Linked DNA regions of Homo sapiens: region 2 is linked to region 1. The links are contacts of gene promoters, found by promoter capture Hi-C in blood cells and fetal thymus (Javierre and others, 2016). All regions are on one chromosome and are shown on one strand. The core of a region is centred on a gene start or on the middle of the fragment in contact, and the rest is flanking DNA. Distances in the headings are between cores, read along the strand shown.

The links. The method cuts DNA at HindIII sites, captures the fragments that hold promoters and counts their contacts. A CHiCAGO score of 5 or more calls a contact.
Region 2: a fragment that was not itself captured here is called in contact with the fragment with the promoter of SLC6A9 in region 1 in 3 of 17 cell types (naive B cells, total CD4 T cells and naive CD8 T cells); the score reaches 6.9 in naive B cells.

The regions. Positions count from the first base shown.
Region 1 is chr1:44,027,465-44,034,444 of GRCh38, forward strand. It overlaps SLC6A9 (solute carrier family 6 member 9), which reads right to left and starts at 3,998. Exons shown (of 14, transcript NM_001024845.3): 1 at 3,842-3,998. LOC107984948 (a long non-coding RNA gene) reads left to right here and starts at 2,950. Exons shown (of 2, transcript XR_007066054.1): 1 at 2,950-3,085. It overlaps LOC124904168 (a long non-coding RNA gene), which reads right to left. Exons shown (of 4, transcript XR_007066055.1): 3 at 6,181-6,856; 4 at 5,079-5,263. RefSeq lists enhancers at 1,373-1,932, 1,933-2,490, 3,132-3,728 and silencers at 2,600-3,149, 3,470-3,539. The HindIII fragment of the contact is 12,509 bases long and covers 865-6,980 here.
Region 2 is chr1:43,538,595-43,545,574 of GRCh38, forward strand. It overlaps PTPRF (protein tyrosine phosphatase receptor type F), which reads left to right. Exons shown (of 34, transcript NM_002840.5): 3 at 6,437-6,572. The coding sequence starts at 6,482. Among named protein-coding and RNA genes, the nearest start is that of PTPRF, 11 kb to the left of the region's middle. The HindIII fragment of the contact is 9,596 bases long and covers 1-6,980 here.

The DNA.
Region 1 (6,980 bases), core at 2,748-5,247:
TTCTCTCCAACAGTTTTCCACAGCCAACAGGATATGGCCTAAATTGCTTAGCAGGCGTTTAAGGCTGGCCACAGCTGGACTCATTTATTCCACAATATTGATTGCAGGTCTGCTCTGGACCAGACCTGTGCTAGGCACCAAGAACTCAAAGGTATCTGCACTCCTGCAGCTTACAGACTAAGGGGCAAGAGTTAAACCAATGACTAAAATTTAAAGAATTACAAACTGAGACCAGGAGTGGTGGCTCACGCCTGTAATCCTAGCACTTTGGGAGGCCAAGGCAGGCAAATCACCTGAGGTCAGGAGTTCGAGACCAGCCTGGCTAACATGGTGAAGGCCCGTCTCTACTAAAAACACAAAATTAGCTGGGCGTGGTGGTAGGCGCCTGTAATCCCAACTACTTGGGAGGCTGAGGCAGGAGAATCACTTGAATCCAGGAGGCAGAGGTTGCAGTGAGCCGAGGTCACGCCATTGCACCCCAGCCTGGGCAAAAAGAGTGAAACTCTTATCTCAAAAAATAAAAAATAAAGAACTGCCTACTGAGATAAAGGGTGTAAAAGACAAAGATTGTGTTATGAGACTCTACAATAGGGGGGCCTGGCCTTGTGTAAGACTAGGGGAGGGCTTCCCTGATGAAGTGATGTTTAAGGGTCTAAAGAAGTTAATTAGGCAAAGTGGCAATAATGAGGAAGAGAAGAGGAAGAGAGAGTCAAGCAAATGGAACAATATGTGGAAAGGCTCTGAGGCTGGAGCTCAGACAGTCAGGGGGAAATGGTCAAAGATTAAAGTGGACAGAGAGGCCTGGCCAGGGCCTTTGGGGTCTGGATTTTGGTCTTCATCTTGAGGGCAAGGGTGCCTATTGAAAGCTTTTAAGCAGAAGATCAACTTCAAGGAGGAGCCATTGGTGGAATGTGCATCTTGAAACCATCCCCCTAGATACAGTGTGGAGAAAGGACTGGAGGGAGGCTGAAGTTGAAGAGAGGAAGTCAATTAGAAATGGGCCAGGCCAGGCTGGGCGCGGTGGCTCACACCTGTAATCCCAGCACTTTGGGAGGCCGAGGTGGGTGGATCACCTGAGGTCAGGAGTCCGAGACCAGCCTGACCGACATGGAGAAACCCTGTCTCTACTAAAAATACGAAATTAGCTGGGCGTGGTGGCAGGCACCTGTAATCCCAGCTGCTCAGGAGGCTGAGTCATGAGAATTGCTTGAACTTGGGAGACAGAGGTTGCAGTGAGTCAAGATTGTGCCATTGCACTATTGCCTGGGCAACAAGAGCAAAACTCCGTCAAAAGAAAAAGAAAAAGAAAAAAGAAAGAGAGAGAGAGAAAGAAAGAAAGGAAGGAAGGAAAGAAGGAAGGAAGGAAGGAAGGAGCCAGGCCAAAAATGAAGGGGCTCAGGTTAGGAAGGTGACAATAGGGTGAGGAGAGGTGCACAGATTTCAGAGAAATATAAAAGGCAACATGGCGAGACTTGGTGATGAATCGGACTGGGTAGGGGGAGGGATAAGAAGGAGTCTCTGGTTTCTGCTGGTGCAGTGGGAGGAAACCGGTGCCCGACCCAGAGGACGAATGCTGGTGAGGCTGCAGGTTTGGTGCGGGGACAGGAGGGCTGGCTTGGACAAGCTGGTCTGAGCTGCTTGTGAGCCAGATGTTGAGACATCAGCCACAGAACCCTGGCCCACCTTGACAGTCTCACCGCTGAGTATCAGACAGGACTGTCAGGTCAATCAGTTTTAACGGTCCATCTTGGCCAAGCCCTGGAGTCCTCACGGGGGATGGAAAGGTGACAGGCTCTTTTCCTAGCTTGAAGGACCGCACAGTTTAGTAGACAGAGGAAGAAGCATAATTTCCATTCACTGTGTTGGAGGAAGTGGAGGAGCTGTGGGAGCAGGAAACAGCCCTTAGTTCTACCTGGGAGCCCAGGTCAGCAGCCTGCGGCCATCTGCCGCCACGTGAGACTACCCAGCACTTGCAGAGGGCTCCTGCTTCATGCCTTTGCCCCGGCACCCGTTCCATGTTTTTTGAGCACCCTTGTCTCCACTTCCACCTGTATGTATCCTACCCATCCTCAAAACCTATCCCAATGCTATTATCTTCATGAAGCCTTCCTAGGTCCTCCCCGTTGCTGTCAGCCTTCCTACTGTACCCCCACGCTTGCCACACGTAGCAATTGAGGCATGCTTCCTTGTGCCCAAGTCTGGCTCCCCACTAGATGGAGAGTTCTACCAGGGCAGAGGCGTGATTCTTCTGTGTCCCCAGAGCCGGGAACTGAGCAGGTACAGCCGCAGTCGCCGCATAGGCCAAGTAAAGGGGGCGTTTTCTCTGCGGTCCTTGGAAACACTTGGGCATGCTCAGTGTCGCCCATTAGTCCCTAGAACCAGTCCCCTCACCCACTACTCTCCAACCTTCTGATGCTCCCTCACTTTGGCAGTCTTTAACCTTTCAGGTTTTTCTCTTTCCCCACTCCTCGCCCTGCAGCCTTTATTTCCCAACGGCCGCACCCTCACGCTCCTTTCAGCGGAGAAATAGACCGCGCTTTGTGCGGAAGCTGTCAGCGAGCAAGCGTCCCGTCTCCTTTAAGAGTGATCCGCGAGGGGGTGTGGCTTGCGGAGAGCAGGCCCGAAAGGGGGTGCGGCTCCTTTAAGTATCCGCCGGCCCGAGGCGCGGAGGCCTCCGGCCGGCGGGCAGGGGCGCGGTCGGTCTGGGAGCAGCGGCACCGCCCGCAGCGTCCCGGTTCCTCGAAGTGGGGCGCGTCCGCTTTAATCGGGGAGAGAGATGTGGGGGCACGGGCGTTACATCAGCCGCCACGTGTGGGCCTAAGCTGGCGTGGAGGCGGCGGCCCCGCCCCCGGCCCCTGCGGTGGAAAAGTACCGGGGCGCCGAGGTCCCCGCCCCACGGCCCCGCCCCCGGGCCGGCACCGGCCCCTCCCGGCCCTCCGGGCAAGCCCCACTCTCCCGCCCGGCCCGGCCCCGCCGCCTGCTCGAGATCTGCAGTGGCTGCCGGGTGCGGAGCGCCGGCCGGGGGTGGGCTCTCCAGGGCTGCTAGGCCCCTGCCCTCACCTGCGGCCGCCCGGCCCCGCCCTAGGTGTGCCGGTAATGAGGGTTGGGGTGGGGAGGGCACGGATTCTTCCCAGGGTAGCAACCCCCAGAGAACTCCCGGCTCGCTCGCAGTCCCTTCCCAAAGCCGCGGCCAGAGCGCGGACAAAGAGAGGCTGAGTGCGCCAGGACTCTCCCGCGCGGCTTCCCGGGTCCCGCGGGCGCACGGGCACTGGAACCGGCACCGGGAGGGCAGATAGGGAGGCAGGCCGGCTGGAGGGGCCAGATAGGCAGCCAGGCTGGCGGGCGCTGAGAGGCGATGGAGCGAGCGGGAGCCCGCACGCTGGGTGCAGGCACGGCCGACTGTCGACCCCTGCAGGCCCCCAGAGCGCAGAACCACTGGCTCCTCGGACGGACAGTGCCACGCTCTGGCTCCGGCGCTACCCGCACAGCCTGCGCCCGCCGCCCCCGATCGAACCGGCGTCTGGCGCCCCCCCGCCACCCCACGCAGGAGCTCCCCCCACTTCCCTCTCCCTCCCGCTTCAGCTCCTTGGTGACAGCGGTGACACCCAGACGCGCGCACCTACCCCGATCTTTGCGGCGAGACAGACATCCCGGTGCGTGCACCCACACTCTTACCCACAGATGCCCGCATACATGCGCGATCACACACACACACACACACACACACACACACGCACACGCTGGTCCTGGGGCTCAGCCCCGCGGAGCCGCCGAACACTCAGACCGACGGCAGGACAGACGGAGGCGCGGGCCCCAGCGTCCCTTCCCCCAGCCCCCTTACCATGCTGCAGCCCCCGGCCCAGGCGTGCTGGGTCCGCACCGCGGTGCGCCCAGGTGGCTTTCTTAAAGGGAAAGTTGCATCAGCCTCCCGAGGCTCTGTGCCGCGCCGAGTTCGCCCGCCCCGCCGCGCCGCTCGCAGCTCTTCCACAGCCTGTTGTGTTTTGGTTTCGGGGAGGCGGGGGCTAAGAGTTTGGTGAAAGTTTGAAGAGTGGAGAAGGCTTGGGAGATCTAGCCAAGTCCCTCCCCTACCCGAACGGCTCCCCTGGCCGTCCTCCCCTCTCCATCCCATCCCCTCCTCCCGTGCCGACTTCTCAGGCTCCTCCTCCCAGGGAATAAAATTACAAGTCTCTCCAGCTTTCAGATGATTGATCCCCACGAACCCCTGGGAGTGAGCGCCACAAAGGAGTCCCCTTCTCCGCCCCTGCCTCGCTGCCCTCCAGCTGGGGCCCTTGAGCAAGCAGATGTGGGCCCCTTCGGGCTAGGCTGGAATGAAGCCAGAAGGCCTGGGGCACTATGGGGGGCTGAGGCTGGAGTTAGCCCTCCAGGCCCCTGGCCTTCTGCGCCTGCGTTTCCCCTAGAGAGAAGTCAGAGCAAATTCCATTCCCTTTGGAGCAGAGCCGCTAGAGACTGTGGGCATTGCTGGGTAAGGCCTAGGTCCTACTCCTTGGAACTGGAGGGCTCGGGGTAGCCCTTTCTCAAATTTCCCTCCTGGACCACCGGCTTGGTCAGCTCTACTTTTGAGGTGGTGTTACAGGGGCTGCAGACACCAACCTGGGATCCCTCCTCCTTCCATGGTGAGACAGACCTGGGTTACAATCTCAGCTAAAAAAGAGTCTTTGCCAAAAGGAGCATGGTGAGCCTCGGTTTCCTCCTCTGTGAAACAGAGAGAAGGGGCTAAGGAAATGCATGTGTGTGTATATAAAGCCCATTGCTCCAGGCTGCCTCTGGGGAGTGGTGGCTGGCATTTGGAATGAGCCTCCCACATTTGCATACCTTGTGAGAGCCACCACCTTTCATGGAGAGTGGCCAGTTAGTTCTGTCAGAGGAACTGGTTTTTGCCCCAACCTGAGTAGGGCATCTGCTCAGGGAAGGGGCCCAGCCCACAGAGGCAATTTCTACTTTGGACCCTGAGTCCTCACCATTTTCTGGCCAGGAAACAGTTTAATTTTTTTCCTTGGGACAGTCAGCCTCCAAGAAGCGAGTGCACACATGCCAAACTCACGTGAAACCAATTGTTGAGTGAGATTCCAGTTTATTAATTTATCAGAGGCACTGAACAAGATAACAGGCATCAAGCCCAGGCATTCCCTGAAATGCGAGCTCTCTCAGGCCACACGCGGTCCATTCCACAAACCTTCCTCAGAGCCAAAGTACAAAGACAGCTCTCTGTTGTCTCCTATTCACATTGGACTCCTGATCAGATCTGGGAAGACACCTTAGTCTTATCAGCGAGATTATTTTCACTTTTACTTTGTCCCCAAACCTAGTAGGTATAGCATGTTTGGGATTTTTAGTCTCCTACAAGCCAAGTGCAGGTGTTTCTTGCGTGAGTTGTGTGCACACACACCTGGATCTAGGCAACCTGTTGTGTCTGTGCCCCCAGACACCTGAGCCCCGATTGTGTATTTGTGTAGGTACATCTGTGGAAGACTGATTGTGTGCACTGCAGCAGGTCTGTGTAGTTATGTGTGTGCTCAATTCCTGGGACTGGGCAGATGGGGTCCAAGCCCTCTATATCTCTCCTGCCAGGACGTAACTTCCTCCATAAGTTTTTTTTAGGATCTTCCTCCTTGCCTCCTCGCTGGGGCTCATCAAAAGGGATACCACCCCAGGGAAGGCAGATGGAGGATGTCGAAGAGGCCCCCAAGTAGAGGAAGGCGGACAAGGAAGAGTATGAAGGGGAAAAGGCCTCCCTCCTTCTCCCTTCCAGCAGTAGGCTGGGGTGGGGACAGGCCTAGAAGAGGGCACTGAGCGCTAAGAACACTCAGTGAAGATTCCGAGAGTTTTCATGGCTCAGGGAATCCATATGAAGGGAGGCAGGTGTAGGGTGCTGCAAGCCAGACTTCCAGGATGCCCTCAGGCCTAGGGGCTTGGGGCCTGGGCTGTTAGAAGAGAGGAGGATGGGTGCTCAGGGGCCAGCCCTCTGAGGCTCCGTCAGAAAGAGGAAGGCTTGGGGACTAACCTAGGGACAGGGACGTGGGGTGAAGAGAAAATTTTCCTTGGAGTGTTTAGGGAGATTGGGGATGTTGGCCAGAGGGCTTTATTAGACTAACACTGGCATAGCTCAAAGTCTATTTGTATACATAGAAACAGATTCATGGATATGTGTGTTTTACCCACCTTGAACCAGAAAGAGCTTCAGGAAACCACACAGCTGTGTCCTGAGGAGACACTTGTGAGAAAGATTCTGGTTTGAAAAGTCATCTTCCTGAGACAGGGACTAGAGAGGCTGTTTTTTTCCAATCAGAATGAGGCCCAAAGGAGGCAGGTTTGGGCCCAGCCCGGGTGGGAGCTGGGATAGCCTCCGTCCCTGGCTGTGAGCCCCTGGCTCTGAGCAGCTGGCCTGCAGGGTGGGAAGGGCATGGCCAGCCTGGGCCACTGTGGGGCGGGCAGGGGGATCAGGACTGAGGACAGACTGGGGCAGGGGAGGGGATGGGGGACGGACGGGGTCAGACATTTTGACGGGCCTGCTTCTTCCTGGGGCAGGGCAGCAGTTGGGCTGGGGCCCACCCACCACCCACTGCAGGCTGAAATGTGGCTCAGGAGCCTCCAGTTACTGCAGCCAGTGGAGCTATTTCCTGGGAGGGCTGCATCCAGCGTCAGAGCCCCCAGGGCTGGCTGGTTTCCTCGAGTGGTGTCATCAGCCTGCAGGATCAAGGCCTCTGTTTCGAGATGCACATAGTCAGCTTAGGTGTGTGTCTAGTAGGAATATGAATAATGCCAGACTTGGGCCACTTCTGGTGGTCACTGCAGGAGCTGGCAGCACTGGGCACCTTGATGGAGTGGTGCTGGGGGCCTGCTGAGAAGGTGGGGGAGGGTGGACATTGCCTGTAGTTGAAGCCAGGCCTGGCCAGGGGTCTCCACCTCCTTAGAACCCCAGCCTCAGTAGCCAGGAAGCATTACTGGGAGGTGCCTGCCTG
Region 2 (6,980 bases), core at 2,505-5,004, 490 kb before region 1:
TAGAGGTGGATGGGGAATGACATACAGCTCGTCAGCTACTGTAGGTGTGAAATAGGCTTCCGGGTGATGTCCTGGGACTTACACCAGGATCTTTCTTCTGCTTCTCCATTCGCCACGTTTCTGTAGAAAAGACTGTTCCCATCGACTGTAGGTTGTCGTAGAAAGAGCTTGGTGCCTGCAGGATCTGGGCATGTCCTCTGCATCTCTTTGATGTCCCCTTGTTCTCCTCTCTGTCTGTTAGAAGCACAGAATGGGTGGGCTGGAGTTGCAGGGAATGAGGTTGGTAAGTTGGTTTAGAGTCAGCATCATGGGCCTTGGATGTCAGGCTAAAGACTTTAGACTTTTTCCTGAGGGCAATACAGCAGCATTGAAGGTTCTTAAGCAGAGAAGCAATATCCATGTGTTGATCTGTCCATTGCCCATCCGTTCATTCTTTCACGGAACACTGTCTGAATGCCTGCTGTGAAATAAAGTGGCAAACAAAAGTGCAGATTTGCATTTTTATGTGCTGAAAGGTGGCACTGGTCTGTGTGCGGGATGGGTTGGGAGTGATTGAAGGCAGGAAGCCCACCAAAGAGGCAGGAAGTGATGAGGTCTTACTAACACAGTGGCAGTGAGGATGGAGGCAGGTCAGATTCAAACTTATTGATGGGTTAGATGTGTGGGATGAGGACAAGGGAGCATTTAAGGAGGGTTTGCGGGCTTGGTGACTGACAACATGGTGGTGCTGTCCCCAAGACTGGACACCCTGGAGGAGGAGTGGAATTGGGGCAGATGAGTTCTGGTTGGGCCATCCTGAGCCAAGAGCTCGGTGGGTCTGTTCACCCTCTGTAAGCTCCTCGAAGGCAGAGCCTGTGACTCTCTTGTTCATCACCCTGCCCACTGAACATCTGGACGGGTGGCTGAACTAACAAGGCTGTGGAAGAGATGGGTCTGGCCTGGGTAGGGGAAGGAAATGTGTATGTCCTGGGTGTCTCCTGGGGTCCAGACCCTACGTTTGGTGAGATGGGCACTGGGGTTATGTAGAGGGTGCAGCAAGAGGGGCTGTGTCACAGGCTGGAAAGGTCAGATGGGGAGGGTGGGTGTAGGGACACTATGTGTCCCTTTGCCTCTCCATCCTCAGATGATGGTCTGACCTAACTCGAAGTCCAGTCTTGCCAGAATAGGTACCTGAAGGTGGAGCCCTCTGTCCTCTCGGGAGGCCACTAGCTGATGGCATGTCTGGTGGGGTGCAGATGGGGTGTGCTATAGGACCTGACTTCTGGAGGCTGGGTAGGGCTGATGTGGGGGTACAGGGGAAGATACTCTGAGATCCTGAGGCCAGGCGCCAGCAAATACAGGAGTTAAGCCAGGTTGGAGCTTCCTTGGGTACAAGGCCCAGGGTGCCCACAGGGGATTGGGTTCTGGGGCAGGGGCCAGGTCAGGCTCTAGGCTCAATTGGCAAAGGATCTTGTTGTCTGTGTTGGGGTTTCTCAGCCTCAGCACCATTGACATTTTGGATCAGATAACCCTTATTGTGGGGGCAGGGCTTGTTATTGTAGGGTGTCTAGCAGCATCCCTGGTTTCTTCCCCCTAGATGCCAGTAGCATCTCCCCGCTTTCCCCAGTCTCGACAATCAAAAATGTCTCCAGTCGTTGCGTAATGTCCCATGGGGGCAAAATTACCCTGAATTGAGAACCTCTGGTCTACAGCCTCTTGCTGCTTTCACTATACTGTACAAACCTGGAAAATTGGGGAGGGTCAGTGGGGAAGATGGATAGTGATGGGCCACTTGAGCAGAGTTCTGAGGGGTGAGTGAGTGCTGGGGCAGGAGAAGGACATTTTTTTCCAATAGACAGAACGGCAGGTACAGAGGCTTGGAGGCACAAAGTTGGGAAACAGTAATCCAAGGGGGACCCCAGCCCCAGAGGAAGGGGCCTGGAGGCTTAGGGGTTACAGCCGCAGGAAGATACCTCTGCTGGTCCCCTTTGGTCATTTGCCTCCAGAGTTAGTCTCCTGCTGACCCTTTGCCGCCTCCAAGTCTCTGCGACACTCCTCCTAATCTCCCCCTCCACTCCTCAGTGAGATGGAGAAACTGAGAGCTGCAACAGGGTGGGACTCAGTCCAGCTGGTGGGAGCCCCGATACCAGCCGTGGGAGGGAGGGCTGTTCCTGGCTCTGCTCACGGATTCTGGCCAACTGGCTGGAGGAGGGAAGGCGGCCTCACCCTCTTCCCCACAGGCCCCTCCTTCCCTGGGTCAGGGGTCCTGGCTGAGACTATAATTTATTCCCGTCATAATCCAGTGGTTGGTTTGGTGAGAGCTGGAAACATGTTGGTTTTCCCTTCCCAAGTATAACAAGGCCTGTTTCCGCCTCCGCGGCCGCTGCTGCAGTGCCACGCGGTGAACTGTCCAGGACATGACAAAAGGGCTCGGTTAGCTGCCCGCTGGTTAGAAGATGAACGGCTCAGAGCTCTCCCTGCCGACAGGCTCTTCCCTTCCTGTTGCCCAAGTGCTGGCCTTTCCTCTTGGCCGTCTGCTCTGTAGGGCCCTGGATACCCCTCCTTCTGCTCATGTCCATTTCTGGGCCCCAGGGTCCTGGCCTGGGGAGGTGAGATGGGGGAGGCTACAGAAACAGGTGGTATTTGGAGACTAATTAATATTTGTGAATAATAATGCATGCCCAAGGAAAACAAATCAATCTGTGTTTGCGTATTTATGATGAGGACTCAGGAATGATCCCAGCTGTTCTCCAGCCAGGGAAGCCCCCATCACATGGTCCCTTGGGCCCCCACAGAGGCTGGCAGGGTGGTTAGGGTGGGCTGCATGGAGGTGACATGGCTTCTGTGTTTTGCAACGTGAATCTTCTGTGACGTTCATATGCGAATGCTGTGGCTTGGTCTAGTGCCTGCTTCTTCCTTTTCCCTCAAAGCAGTGATTCCCAGGCTCTTTGGTTTCACGAACCAATACAATTTCCAAAAGTACTCAAGAGCCAGACATGGGGTTGGCAATTTTTTATTTTGCCAAGTAAAGGCATTATAAAAAAACAACTGCTATCTGCTGTCCCCATCATTTCATACAGGAAAGAACATTTTAACACCAAGGACAATATTTGAGAATAAAGGACAGTTCTTCCCAAGAAAGGGCAGTTGGCAGCTTTACACTGACGTAGCAAAGGAAAAGGATATATTAAAACCATTCTGAATGTGGAAAAATTGTGTCCAATTATATTCTATAATATCATACCGTATGTAATTGTGTTCCTGCCCAAGTATGTCAGCTTGGCAGAACGGATGGTCCACAGTGCAATTCAGAGACGAGCTTGAGTGCCCCAGTGCTCCGGCCTTGTTTTTATCTCGGTTGTTGAAAGCCCAGGCTCACCCAGCCATGCTGGTGAAGTGGGTGTTCTGCTGTGAACACCGTTGCATGGATTCACAAGATGCTCAACCTCGCAACCGCAGTCAGGCTAGCAGCAGCCCTGCCCCTTGTTCCTCTCCCACCTTCTCCCCACAGGTGACCCTGGGACCCTGGGACTCTGGGGGCCAAGGTCTACTCTTGAGGCCAGGCCTGGGGATCCAGGGCTGCTCTGCTCTGATGAGGGAGGCCCTGGAGCTGGGAGTGGCCTGAACCGCCTGACACCAGGGCAGGCTCTGTGCCCGGAGTCTCAGGGCGGGAGGCAGCTTGCTCTCGCCAGGAGCTGGTGAGGGAGAGGCCCTGGCTCGTACAGCTGTGTGGCTGCCAGAGTAGTTGCCTGAGAATGTGTTTGTGTGTGTCCCTTGTGTTTCCCCATCTCCCTGGGCATCTGTGTCCTTGTGTCCATCATGGACCACTGGAAGAAGCTCTCTGTTCTACTTTCTGGATCTGAACAAAGTGTCCTGAGCACCCCAACCCAGATACACAGGGGGTTTCTGGAGGCCCCACGTTGGGGGTAGGGTTACCTGAGGCCCAAGTTCTCCAACACCCATGGCCAGACTCTCATCCAGGCTTGTACCACATGGGTGTCTATTCTGGGAGTTTTACCCCCATGATGGCTCTCCTGGGAGCTCTGCCCCCACCATGAAGTCTGTAACAGCACGTTACACCTCTGCTAATGTATGGGGAGTTGCACCCCTGTAATGTCCTTATCAGGCAGCTGCACTCCATGATGTCTGTACCCTCTGTGTCCGCCCACGTGATGTCTAGACCACACCATTACACCTCCATGATGTCTGCACCTGGGCGTTATACTGCTATGATTACTGCACCAAGGCGGCTACAGGGGATTAAGCCTCTGCTCATTGTACTGGGGAGCTATATCCCATGATGACGGTGCTGTGCATTTTATTTTCATAGCAGGGAGATATGCTCATGCTGGGGGCCTATGTCCCTATGAAGCCTGCCTGGCAGGGGTTGCATGCTTGGAATGCTTGTTCCTGGAAGTTAACCTCTGTGACTATTATATTGTTATACCCGATGATGCCGGTACGAGGCCACTGTGCCCTGTCCTTTGGTGCAACACAGCTGTTGAGTTATAAACTCATGTGTCTCATTCAGGGGCTCCAGGATGGTCCATCAGGGGACCATACCCCCATGATGACCTGGCCTGGCATAGGATACCAGATGTGTCCACAGGCCCAGGGAGGAAGAGCCACTCATAGTCCACCACCTGATGGCCGCTGGGAAGGTGCTCCATCGTTGGCTGCATGTGGCACCATAGCGCAAGCTCAGGCAGGGCCTTGGTGATGTGTGACCTCCATCCCACTGTGGCCTTGCAGGCGTCATTGTGGTCTCAGCCACCTCAGCTCTGGGATCGTGGAGCAGATCCATCCCCAGCTTGGTGTAAATGGGGCTGGACACCTATCAACGTTCTTACTTGAAGAACTGGTGTAAATGAAGGCTGGACACCCTTCACCGTTCTTACTTTGTTGTTCAGCTCCTGTCTCAGATTTTTGGTGGGATCCTGGGACAGGGGACAACTCTCACCCCTTTTCCTTTGTGTTTGGCCCCATCCCACTTTGCATTCCCACCTGCTTTGTCCAACACCTTTGCTCAACTGCTGCCTTCTGACCTCATGAACTTTGATTATCTCAGTTGAGACAAGGGTTCAAATTTCAGAAACGACTGGAGCACCTTTGAGCCCTGCCCATTCCTGGTCACCTGCCCTGTCACCTTGCAAATTCTCTTACTATTGTGGGTCAGCGGGGACCTGGGTCTGATCACAACTCCCCTATCAAAGTCCATGCGTATCACTGTGGGGCCCCAAGGCGTGTTCACCGTCATGCACTCTGCTCTGTTGCGTCTTCACAGCATTCATGAGGGATCGACCACGTCTCACCCCTCTGCCCAGAGCATGGTGTGATCAGAGCTTGTGGGCCCTTCCATACATCCCCTGGTGCCCCCCAGGTGAGGGGTATGGGAGAGAGACCCTGGGGAGCTCACCAGTGGGGCCAGGGAGTGATAGCAGCGTATCTCCCATGTATAGTGCGGCCATGCTAGAGGCTTCACCCAGGTGCCTGCAGGCACTTCAGGCCAGGAGCCTTGGAAGTAAAGGCCTAGGGGCATTCAGCCAGTCCCAGACGCTACTCAGTCTTTTTGTGCATAGCTTCCTGTCTCAAACATCAGCCCCTGAGGTTCACACCCCATCATCCCTACACTTGTTTGGCTCCGGGCTTCTGGGGCAAGGGCAGAAGAGATGTGAGGTTTGAATTCTAGGGTCTAACACCCCATTCCTGGCCACTGAGGCCTCCCTGTGGTTTCTCTGTGAAGTAGGAAGGTGCCATGGGAATGGGTAGGACGAGGGTGGCCAGGCAGGGCAGCAGCAGCTTGTCAAGAGCACGTCCTGGTGAGCACTGAGGGGTTGTGGCTTTGGCTGGAAGCCTCTGATACCTGGAGCCTGTCTTCTGCTAACAAGCCTGTGTTCAGGGGCCTGTGCTCAGCGTGCTCGTGGAGTCTGGCCTCCCACCTTCTCCCTCCCTGCTGGGGAGAGGAGGGGCAACAGAATTCTACCAGGGAGACTCCAGAGTCAGTTGGCTTTGCCCCTCACTGCTCCTTGTCACTGTCTTGTCTCTCTGTCCTCTGTCCCACGTAAGCGTCTCTCTGACCCTGTTTCCCTGTCCTCTTATGGGGGTGAGTTAGAAGCTCAAGGTTTGGACTGGAACACACTGTACATCCTCTGGTCTCACTCACTCCCTGTACCTCCTACTCAGGTTTAGAGAATGGCCCGAAGGCCTCCTGCGCTCTTTCTCCCTCCACCGTGACTGTTGGGCTGTCCTTGTGGGTGCTGGGGAATAAGTGAGGAGCTTGGGTGGTCACTGGGGTCAGAAGGTCTAGGTGGTCATTGCACAGCCCAAGTGGGGGGCTCTGTTGAACTAGGCTCTGGATGGTCAGTGAGGATGACTGGGGGTCAGAAAGCGTCAGGGGTGGGCATTAGGGACAGCAGTAAATACCAGCTAACTGGCTCTGCCCTTCTCTCCATTACAGGTTGATTGTCCTGGGCTGTGGCTGGCTGTGGAGCTAGAGCCCTGGATGGCCCCTGAGCCAGCCCCAGGGAGGACGATGGTGCCCCTTGTGCCTGCACTGGTGATGCTTGGTTTGGTGGCAGGCGCCCATGGTGACAGTAAGTCTGACCCCTCAAGGTACAGATCTCCCAGGTTGAAAGGTGGCATCCTTCCCAGCAGGACTCTGGGATGGGGACAGACCGGCTACTAGGAGAGACAGGGTGGCCAGAAACCCTTTAGACCTTCTGTCCTAGAGAGCCCCCACTGCTTGGAGAGCCTCCTTCTAAGGAATACCTGGGTACTTAGGAGCATCTTTAGGCACCAGAGCGGGGCAGTCGAATCGTGACCCTGTCTTATGGGGCTGGGGTGAGACCTGTCCTGGATTCATGTGGTCATTGTGTGATGTGCGCGTGTGTGTGCTGTGTGCACTGTTGCAGATCTGTGCTGAAGGCACAGTGTGAGCTACAGCCAGGGGTCGGCATGGGAATGGGGGGTGGCACGCAGGGCATGCGTATGGATGTGTGCCC